Linked DNA regions of Homo sapiens: region 2 is linked to region 1. Evidence: promoter capture Hi-C in 16 types of primary human blood cells and fetal thymus (Javierre and others, 2016). All regions are on one chromosome and are shown on one strand. The core of a region is centred on a gene start or on the middle of the fragment in contact, and the rest is flanking DNA. Distances in the headings are between cores, read along the strand shown.

Region 1 (4,373 bases), core at 82-2,581:
CAAATGCTATACAGTGCTGAATAACAAAGGAAAACAAAAATCATTTATATACTAAGCACTTTTTTGATGATTAACTCATCCATCTAACATTCACCAGGAATTATTACCTTCTTAAAGTGCTCCATATTATTACTCTGAAAAATACAAAAATATAAGACTTATGGTCTCTTTCTTGAAGCACTAAGCATTGATAAATGAAAAGAGTATACAATTCAAGTCAAATCTCTTTGCTTCTAGTCACAAATATGCCACTTCCAAGACATAATTTTATTTCTAAAATAAGTAATCACACTTGTCCTACCCATTTCGCAACCGTCCCATTCACTTTATATTTATGCTGTGAAGAGTAAAATCAATAAACATTTGAAATAATTTGGAAAAATATAAACCCCACAAATGCTAGTTATTAAATATGTTGACATATGGGGCAGGGAAAACAGTAGCTCAATATACTACAGGGCTGAAACAATGTGTTAAATATAGGGACTAACAACATGCTATAGAAATCAGAGGACTATGAGATTAAATCAGATGTAGCATTATTGAAAAATTTATACAATTATTAAATGCCACTTATTTTCTTTGAATGCTGAGCTGGGAATTAACAAAATAGACACAATCTCAATTGCCACCTGCACTATGCTTGTATAGTCTGCTTATCAAAACCATCCACAGATTTAATTAATTACTATTAATCCTAAGAGTCCTAGGCTACCCTATCTTTCTTCTTTCCCTCTTCTCAGAGCAGAAATAATGACACATGTTTTTTTAACTTTCTTTTAAAATTCTAGGACCTAAATATATTCTCCAAGAAGGGTTAATGACTTTGGGCTTCTCCAACAATTGCAAGTGATTGTCCAAGTTTTGTCCTAAAATTACTTGGAAATCAATTCTTGATATTTACGCAGTAAATATTTATAGACCATACATTGTGTGGAAGTTTCTGTGTTGGACCCTGACTCTATTAGCCACTTAAAAGTTTTCTCTGTGTTCAGAAGCTCATCCAAATAAAGCTCACCTAATGCATCTGAACCTCCTTTATCTGAGCATCAACTGGAGTGTTTCCTCCCATATTATACCACATGCTCATAAAATCCTTTTAAAAATAGGCCAGAGCAAGCCTTCTTGTCATATACATAGTGATGTCATATACTAAGTCATCACTAATTAGCTGCTGAATAAAGGAAAAAATGAATGGATGAAAAATGAGAAAAACACATTACCTACATATACATAGTTTTGCTAAACTACAAGAAAAAGCAGTTGGTAATTGTAATTCTGATGATTTATCTTAGTCATCACAATTTTCCTTTGATGGTATCAAAAGATAATGGTGTTGAATGTTTATTGTTGTTTCTTTCAAATTTCAGACATTCAAACGATGAAGATCAACCAGACAATCCTGAAGGAATTCATTCTTGTTGGCTTTTCTGTGTACCCACATGTACAGACATTTCTTTTTGTGGTCTTCTTTTGTCTCTACCTTCTCACCCTTGCAGGTAATCTGATCATCATGGGTCTAACTTGGGTGGACAGGTCCCTCCACACCCCTATGTATCTCTTCCTTAGTGCACTCTCCTTCTCTGAGACCTGCTATACGCTGACCATCGTCCCCAAGATGCTGGAAGATCTACTGGCCAAGGACAGAAGCATTTCAGTCACAGGTTGTAGCTTACAGATGTGCTTCTTCTTGGGACTTGGTGGCACAAACTGTATCATTCTCACTTTGATGGGATATGACCGCTTCCTGGCCATCTGTAACCCTCTAAGATATCCACTGCTTATGACCAACATTGTATGTGGACAACTTGTGGCCTCTGCTTGCACTGCAGGCTTCTTTATCTCTCTTACAGAGACTGCACTGATATTCAGGGACTCTTTCTGCAGACCCAACCTTGTCAAACACTTCTTCTGCCATATGCTGGCAGTTATTAGGCTGTCTTGTATAGACAGTAACCACACAGAATTCATTATAACACTGATCTCAGTGTCTGGTTTGCTGGGTACCCTTCTGCTCATCATCCTGACTGATGTCTTCATTATTTCTACTGTCCTCAGGATCCCTTCAGCTGAGGGCAAGCAGAAGGCCTTCACCACCTGTGCCTCCCACCTCACCGTGGTTATAATCCACTTTGGTTTTGCATCTATTGTTTATTTGAAGCCAGAAGCCTCAGGAGATGACACACTCATAGCAGTCCCTTATACTGTCATTACCCCCTTCCTCAGCCCCATCATATTCAGCCTGAGGAATAAGGACATGAAAAATGCTTTTAGAAGAATGATGGGAAACACAGTTGCCTTGAAAAAATAATCTTGGGTTGTTGCTGCTTGTTTGAAGAAGGGCTCAATGTCCCCAGAATTCAATAGGGGCATTTATCCTGTGACCCCTGGAGAAACTTGTACCATTTGCCTTGTTCCAGAGGTTGGGATGTAAGAAGCAAGTGACACAGACTGGGAACTAAGTAGCCACAGGCATCTACTTAGCTTGTTAGAGAAGCTGTCCAACCCTTCTACTATCCAGTATCAGAAGAAGAATGTCCCTGCAGATAAAAGATTCTGATAATCAACTTCCGGGTGTCCTGCAGTATTCATGAATTGAGTAAAAAGTGTGGAAGGAAAAAACAGCATATAAATCCACTGCACTGAGTGATGTTTTAAATATCTAAAGATGTCAACCATGGCTCAGGCTTGTAATCCCAGCACTTTGGGAGGCCGAGGTGGGCAGATCACTTGAGGCCAGGGGTTTGAGACCGGCCTGGCCAACATGGTAAAACCCCATCTCTACTAAAAATACAAAAATTAGCTGGGCATGGTGGTGGGTGCCTGTAATCCCAGCTACTCGGGAGGCTGAGGCAGGAGAATAGCTTGAACCCAGGAGGCAGAGTGAGCAGAGACCATGCCATTGCACTCCAGCCCAGGTGACAAGAGCAAAACTCCATCTCAAATAATAATAATAATAATAATAATAATAATAATAATAATAATAGACGTAAAAGTTAAGGATTTTTTTTAGGCAAATGTTATGAAGCACTGAAATGCACCTCCCATGAGACAAATCATTTCTGATAAGAGATGTAAGAGTATTGATGTAATTTTGAGTTCTGTTACTTATGGGAATGTTATGAAATAAATGAAATAGTGGATAAATTTATTATGCACATTAACTGATTAAGTTTACCCCTGACCATGACACTCTTTCTTTGGGATTATTTTCATGATACAGGTGCAGACAAAAATCTCTGCTACCTTCAATCTGCAGCCATTCCTTAGTGGCAAGCATTTTCTTTTGCTTTGGTTCCACTCCCGACAATTGGTTATTCAATCTAGGGAAGCTAAAAGTCTCAAAAATAAATACTATTTACTCCCTTATTATGGATGCAGAGGATGTTACGTCAAGTCTAGACTCAAGATCCTGAACCTAAATTTGGACCAATTAGCCTGCTTGTGCCTGATATAGTGACTGTGGCGGGGATTGCTAGTTGCCAGAAATAAGTGAGTAAATGGAAGCTGAAAATACCCAAAGACTCATACCCATATGGGCACTTGCTTTATGACAAGTAAAGCATTTCAGTACAGTGAGAAAATGATAGACTTTCAATATAACTGGTGCTAGGAAAATAGCATATCCATATGAGAAAAACAAAATCTGAAAAAAAAAATCAATTTCTGGAAATCGAAAACTAAATTTGAAAAGTGAAGCAATAAAACTTTAAAAGGTAATGAAGAAGATATCTTCACCAACTTGAGATAGAAAAGACTGTTTAAACTGTATGTAAAATTTTTAACTAAAATGAAAAAGGCTGATTAAATCAAAATTGAGACATTTTATTCATCAAAAAGACGCTATTGAGAGAGTGGAAAAGAAAGCCAAATCATATAGCTATAAAGAAATTTCAGAGACTGATAAGTATGAAATTTAGGATCATAATTACTTTTAGAAGGAGGGTCTGTGAGTGGGCAGGATGAGGGGCACATGAAAAACTCCTGATGGGCAAAGTTCTTTTCCTTGGTCTAGGTAGTAACTGCAAAGGCTTTTGCCCGTGAAAGATTCACTAAGCTATGTATTTGTTTAAATAATTTTCTGTGCTTACATTTTATTTTCTAATGTAAGGATTAAACAAAGCAATGCACAGAAAGATAAAAAAGTCTCTAACATGTAACTGGCAAAGGCCCTCATTTGGTATATGCAGTCATGCGTCACTTAACAATAAGGATGTATTCTGAGAAATGTGTCACTTTGTGATTTTGTCAATGTGTAAACATCACAGAATGTACTTACAAAAACCTACAATGCACATAGACTGTATGATATAGCCTAATGTTCCTAGGCTACAAATGTGTACATTATGTTACTGTACTGAATACTGTAGGCA
Region 2 (4,607 bases), core at 697-3,196, 360 kb before region 1:
CAGTTCTGCTATCTTGTATCATTGAGGACTTGCCAGAGGAAAATACTTAAGTTGGTGTCTGAAATTTAAGGAAATTCTTGCCAGTGATGAGATGGGAGAAATAGATTCCCAACAATGAAATAGCATGTTTCCAAATATATACTTCGAATATTTATTTCAACTTGGAATGCTGAAAATAAATTCAGAAATAATACCAATAAGCAAAGGGGAAAGTTGTGAAAGAAATTGGAATGTGGGTCATAACACACTCTTTGTCTTCATCTCTACTTCTCTGGCCATTACCCCTCCCATAGGTGGAGCAAGACAAGATACTAGCCCTCTTGTGGTCAGCAATCGTTGCACAAATAAATATCTTTTAGATAGCAAAGACTATCATGTGGTAGTATCTCACTGTATGCATTCAATAAATACATGGGTGATTTAATTTTATCTAGAGATTGTACACAGTTAGGGATTAGAAGAGAAACTCTTTCAACAATCTAATGATCCTTGTAATTTATATTTGGGAGATAAGAGTCATGGGACCCAGGATATTGTACCTTGGTGAAGGAACTGCTGGATGGGGTTGTTGGTGGCATCTGAGGAGTCTTGAGATGGCTTTCAGGTAGGGTTGTGCTGGCCTCTGAAGGTTTTGGATGCTGACTCTGTTCCTGGGGTAGTGCCATGCTCCTGGAGTCATGGCTTCTCTGGTTTGTATTTTTCTGTATCTGAAAGTATTCATTTTTTTGTTTAATGTTTTTTAATATTAGGGAAAGCAAAACATCTTTAAATATGTGAGAATATCATCCTTTATTAAATTCTAATAGATGTCATTACCTTCAAAGATTGCCTCTATCTAATGTATTCCTCCAGGCAACTGCCAATATATTTTTTTGCTAAAATGTAAAATGATCTAACATTCTTAGTAAAATAAAATCTTTATTCACTTATTTTTTAAAATGAAATCCATTTTTGTCTTTATGGCATAAGACAGATGAGAAAAGGGCTGCTTGTTACCTGTCTTGCATGAATTTCTCATACCTTTCCACATATGCCAAAGTTGTACAGAACTCACTATGCTTTTTCTCACTTTTAATGTTTGTATGCAACATTTTCTCTGCCTGAAGTCTTTCCAATGTCTGTCTTTACCTTGTTAAGAGCAGTAGTATCTAGTGCATACTGGTTTGTCACAAGGTACAAGGAAGGCAATGGGCTACAAAATGTATATCCATGATCTCATTTAATTTTCAAACCAATTGTGTGAGGAACATGTAAGCTATTTCTCCAATATCATGCAACCAATGAGCAAGATATATACCAAGCCTATCTTACTGCAAAGAACTTGGTTTTGATAACTAACTGCAATTAGGCCCGTGGCCTCCTAGTTTCTTCAAATATTTTAATATTTAGCACAAGTTTCATGTCTTTTTGAAGAAGATAATTGTCCATCTCTTAATATATTTTAATAATTTTCTCTATTTAAATGTAAGCGCAAGGGCATTATTTGGTTTCTCATGAACTCTGCAGAATTTTAAGTGTAAAACAACAGAAGTATGGCTTCCTAAAACTTAAAGCAAATGATTTTCATCTTTGGAAAACTAATATTTGTTTCTTTATTTCTCACCTGGATGAAACTATGCATTTCTGACATCAGTTTTGACATATTTTCCCTCTTTCTCAGTCGAAAGCAGAAGAGTCGAAGCTTATCTCCTTTTTCACAGGGGATATTGTGGCATTCTCCTTTTCCTACTACAGCCATACTTCCTGTTTTATCCTGAATTTCATAGATTGTCGTCTTCCTATTTACAATTTTCTGCAACAAAAAATTAATATCATGTTTGTGAGAACATAGTAACTACCGTGCATATAGGAAAGTCTCTTGTGACAGATTAAAAACAAGATGCAAGACAGCAACTCCTAGTACTGTATCGACATACAATACATATGCCTTAGTCTAGACCATCTCACAGAGCTCTCCCTCAATATCCTTTTTGTTTAAGTCCTTAATGTTCTAAGTATTTCTATTACAGTTCTAGAGCAATGAGTTATCTTCCCATTTTCAACTTCTTTCACCTCCAAGACTGCTATGCTTCCCAAAGCACCTTGATACAAAGGAAACTGAAGTCCTTGGTAGGCTTATTTGGCCTCTGCCCCTATGCAAAAAGAATGGGCATCTGTCACAACTCATCATTCACTATGTTATGAGGAATCTGTAATAAAAAACAAGCTTCTAGTAACTATCTAATTACTTTTTTGACTTTCTCCATTTACTGAATCTCTTTCAACATCTGCTCCCATCCTGAACTCAGGTCCTTAAGCTCAAACATTCCAATTTCTTGCTCATCAAGGCTATTACTCATCGTTCTGGATGTGTATTTCTAAGAATTTCTTTAAGAGTGTGTACAGAAAGCAATGCTGGTAAAATAAGAGGTCATTCTAGAAAATAAATATAACAGATCATGAGCTGTCAGTCATCTAAGAAATTACTGGACTCAATAGCCAGGTATAGATGGTTTTCTGAGTTGGAATGTCTCAAGCTAACTAGTTTCGTGAATTTTGACAGTAACATATCAGAAAATTTTTTCTGCTCTTTTTTTGCGACATATCTAATATACGAGTACAGATTACCTGATTCTCCAAGTATCACCCAAATTTATATTTCTCAGCCCTTCAATACTTTTTGATGAATGCATTTCATTTGGTCAGAACATTGTCCTACCTGTTTACTGCAATTGATTTCCAGGTATAAACAGTCAATTCATTTCTTGCCCTGATTGTCAAAACTGGAACTCAAGCCTCAAAGAACAATACTGTATTCAAAATGAAAACAATGTGATTTTTGCTACAATTGAGATTATAATCAAAGAAATAAGTTTAGTATTATGTTTGTATGGATCTAGATCCCTCACTATCTTTGATCGTTATGACTCATAATAGATAGTCACAGCTGATGAAGTCTCAAGGTTTCTCAGTGAATGTTTTACTAAAGAACTTCAGGGTGATATTTTGGAAAGAATGAGAACATTAATAGTTCTCCTAATCCTGGTCTTAACCTCGAAGAAGACTTTATCTACTTGTCAGTAGTTTTGAGAGAGTCCTGAGTTTTAATGTTAAGTAATATGCAAACTTCCATTTAGCACATCAGGGCTTTTAATTTCAAGTGTTATTGTAGAAAATGCCACAAAATAGCTTTGATGCCTTACCGTATGTAGCATAAATAATCCATATACAATATATCCTGAAGTTTGTTTGTGAAGAATATTGATCTTCGGAATTTTCTTTGCTCTTCTGATGATGTCCTTTGGAACCTCAAACGTTTGGTCAGGACCAGCTTCAGATACAGAAGAGGCTTCATTCACCTCTAGGAGACTATTACGTTTGGAATAATTTGATATAATGATGATTCTCTTTTTAATGAATTTCCTCTTCAAGTTGATGTTTAAAACCTTCACATGAAAGAACTGTGTCTGCGTAGCCACTGTAGCATGAAACATTCTTCTTTGCTCATTTTCTGAGGATTCATATTTAAATACTTTTGTTGCATTTAGTACCATCGCGATTATTGGGTCTTCTCGGAAAATATTTTTACTGGCAGTTGCGTGACGGTTGGCCAATGGTTTTAGGCTCTGCGCATGATACAAAAGGAATACAAAAAAGAAATTTTTGAGTGAGGAATACAGAATTGCTCTTCAGTGACCTCAAGGCACAACATTGGGCCCCCAAAAGTTGTAGATGTGTAGAGCTGGGGCCAGGATACAGGGAAGGAGAGGATATTCTGAAGTAGTCTCATAGCCAGAGGAAGTAATATAGGAGACCACATAGTAAAAGAAGACTTTCTTTAAACAGAATAATCCTTAAAATGTAAGATATAATAGCAACAAAAGACAAGTGGATGCTGAGCCAATCATCATGAATTAACTTAAAATAAATTTAGGATAAAATAATGAGTTGTAGTTTTACTCTTACCAGCTTAAAATGCCAGAGCATAAAAATAGACAAAATACAATTGAATAGCGCTGAAAATGGTAAAGGGTGTCCACCACAAACCACATACATCAACAGTGTTTAGTTATTACCAATGTAGACAGGGCAATTTTTAGCATACAACTCATACTTTTCCTGCCTAAGATAAATGCTGTTAAAGCAGGTGAGAACACCTGTGGGCTAAACCCCTCAGAATGCCCTCATCTCAGTAGGTTCAGGCTACAGACACTCTACAGAGTGTCATTACCACCATTGCAGTCTTTCTCAATGTCAGGGCTCTAGGAGGTAGCATGCTGACAGAAAAGCAAGGATCAGAGTGGATTGTCTTTAATATCCTTTCTCTATAACATCCAGGTTTCCTTAATTTGCAGCAGAACACATTAATGAAGGGAAAGTTGTTCAATTTCAAGAAAAAGCACTGGAGGAATAGGTAGGTTTGTTTCATTCACAAACCAGCAGCTCCTGGAGTGGTCTGATCTGGAATACCATATACAGTGATCATCTGTGAGTGACTGGACTTTATTTGATCTGACTTTTCATCCATGTGACCCATTCAGCCTAAAACAGAAAAGTCCTTTCCCAACACAAGTTAATCAGTAACCGTAGATCCATCCATGAGAATATTAATAGTAACTGATATGCAA

What was found. Contacts are between HindIII fragments. The CHiCAGO score rates a contact against its expected background, and 5 or more counts as called.
Region 2: a contact is called between a fragment that was not itself captured here and the fragment with the promoter of OR10X1 in region 1, in 1 of 17 cell types (M1 macrophages). The highest score is 5.3, in M1 macrophages.

What each region holds. Positions count from the first base shown.
Region 1 is chr1:158,576,857-158,581,229 of GRCh38, reverse strand. OR10X1 (olfactory receptor family 10 subfamily X member 1) reads left to right here and starts at 1,331. Exons shown (of 1, transcript NM_001004477.1): 1 at 1,331-2,311. The coding sequence starts at 1,331. The coding sequence ends at 2,311. The HindIII fragment of the contact is 11,722 bases long and covers 1-4,373 here.
Region 2 is chr1:158,940,975-158,945,581 of GRCh38, reverse strand. PYHIN1 (pyrin and HIN domain family member 1) reads right to left here. Exons shown (of 9, transcript NM_152501.5): 5 at 3,183-3,605; 6 at 1,604-1,792; 7 at 540-707. Among named protein-coding and RNA genes, the nearest start is that of PYHIN1, 12 kb to the right of the region's middle. The HindIII fragment of the contact is 525 bases long and covers 1,684-2,208 here.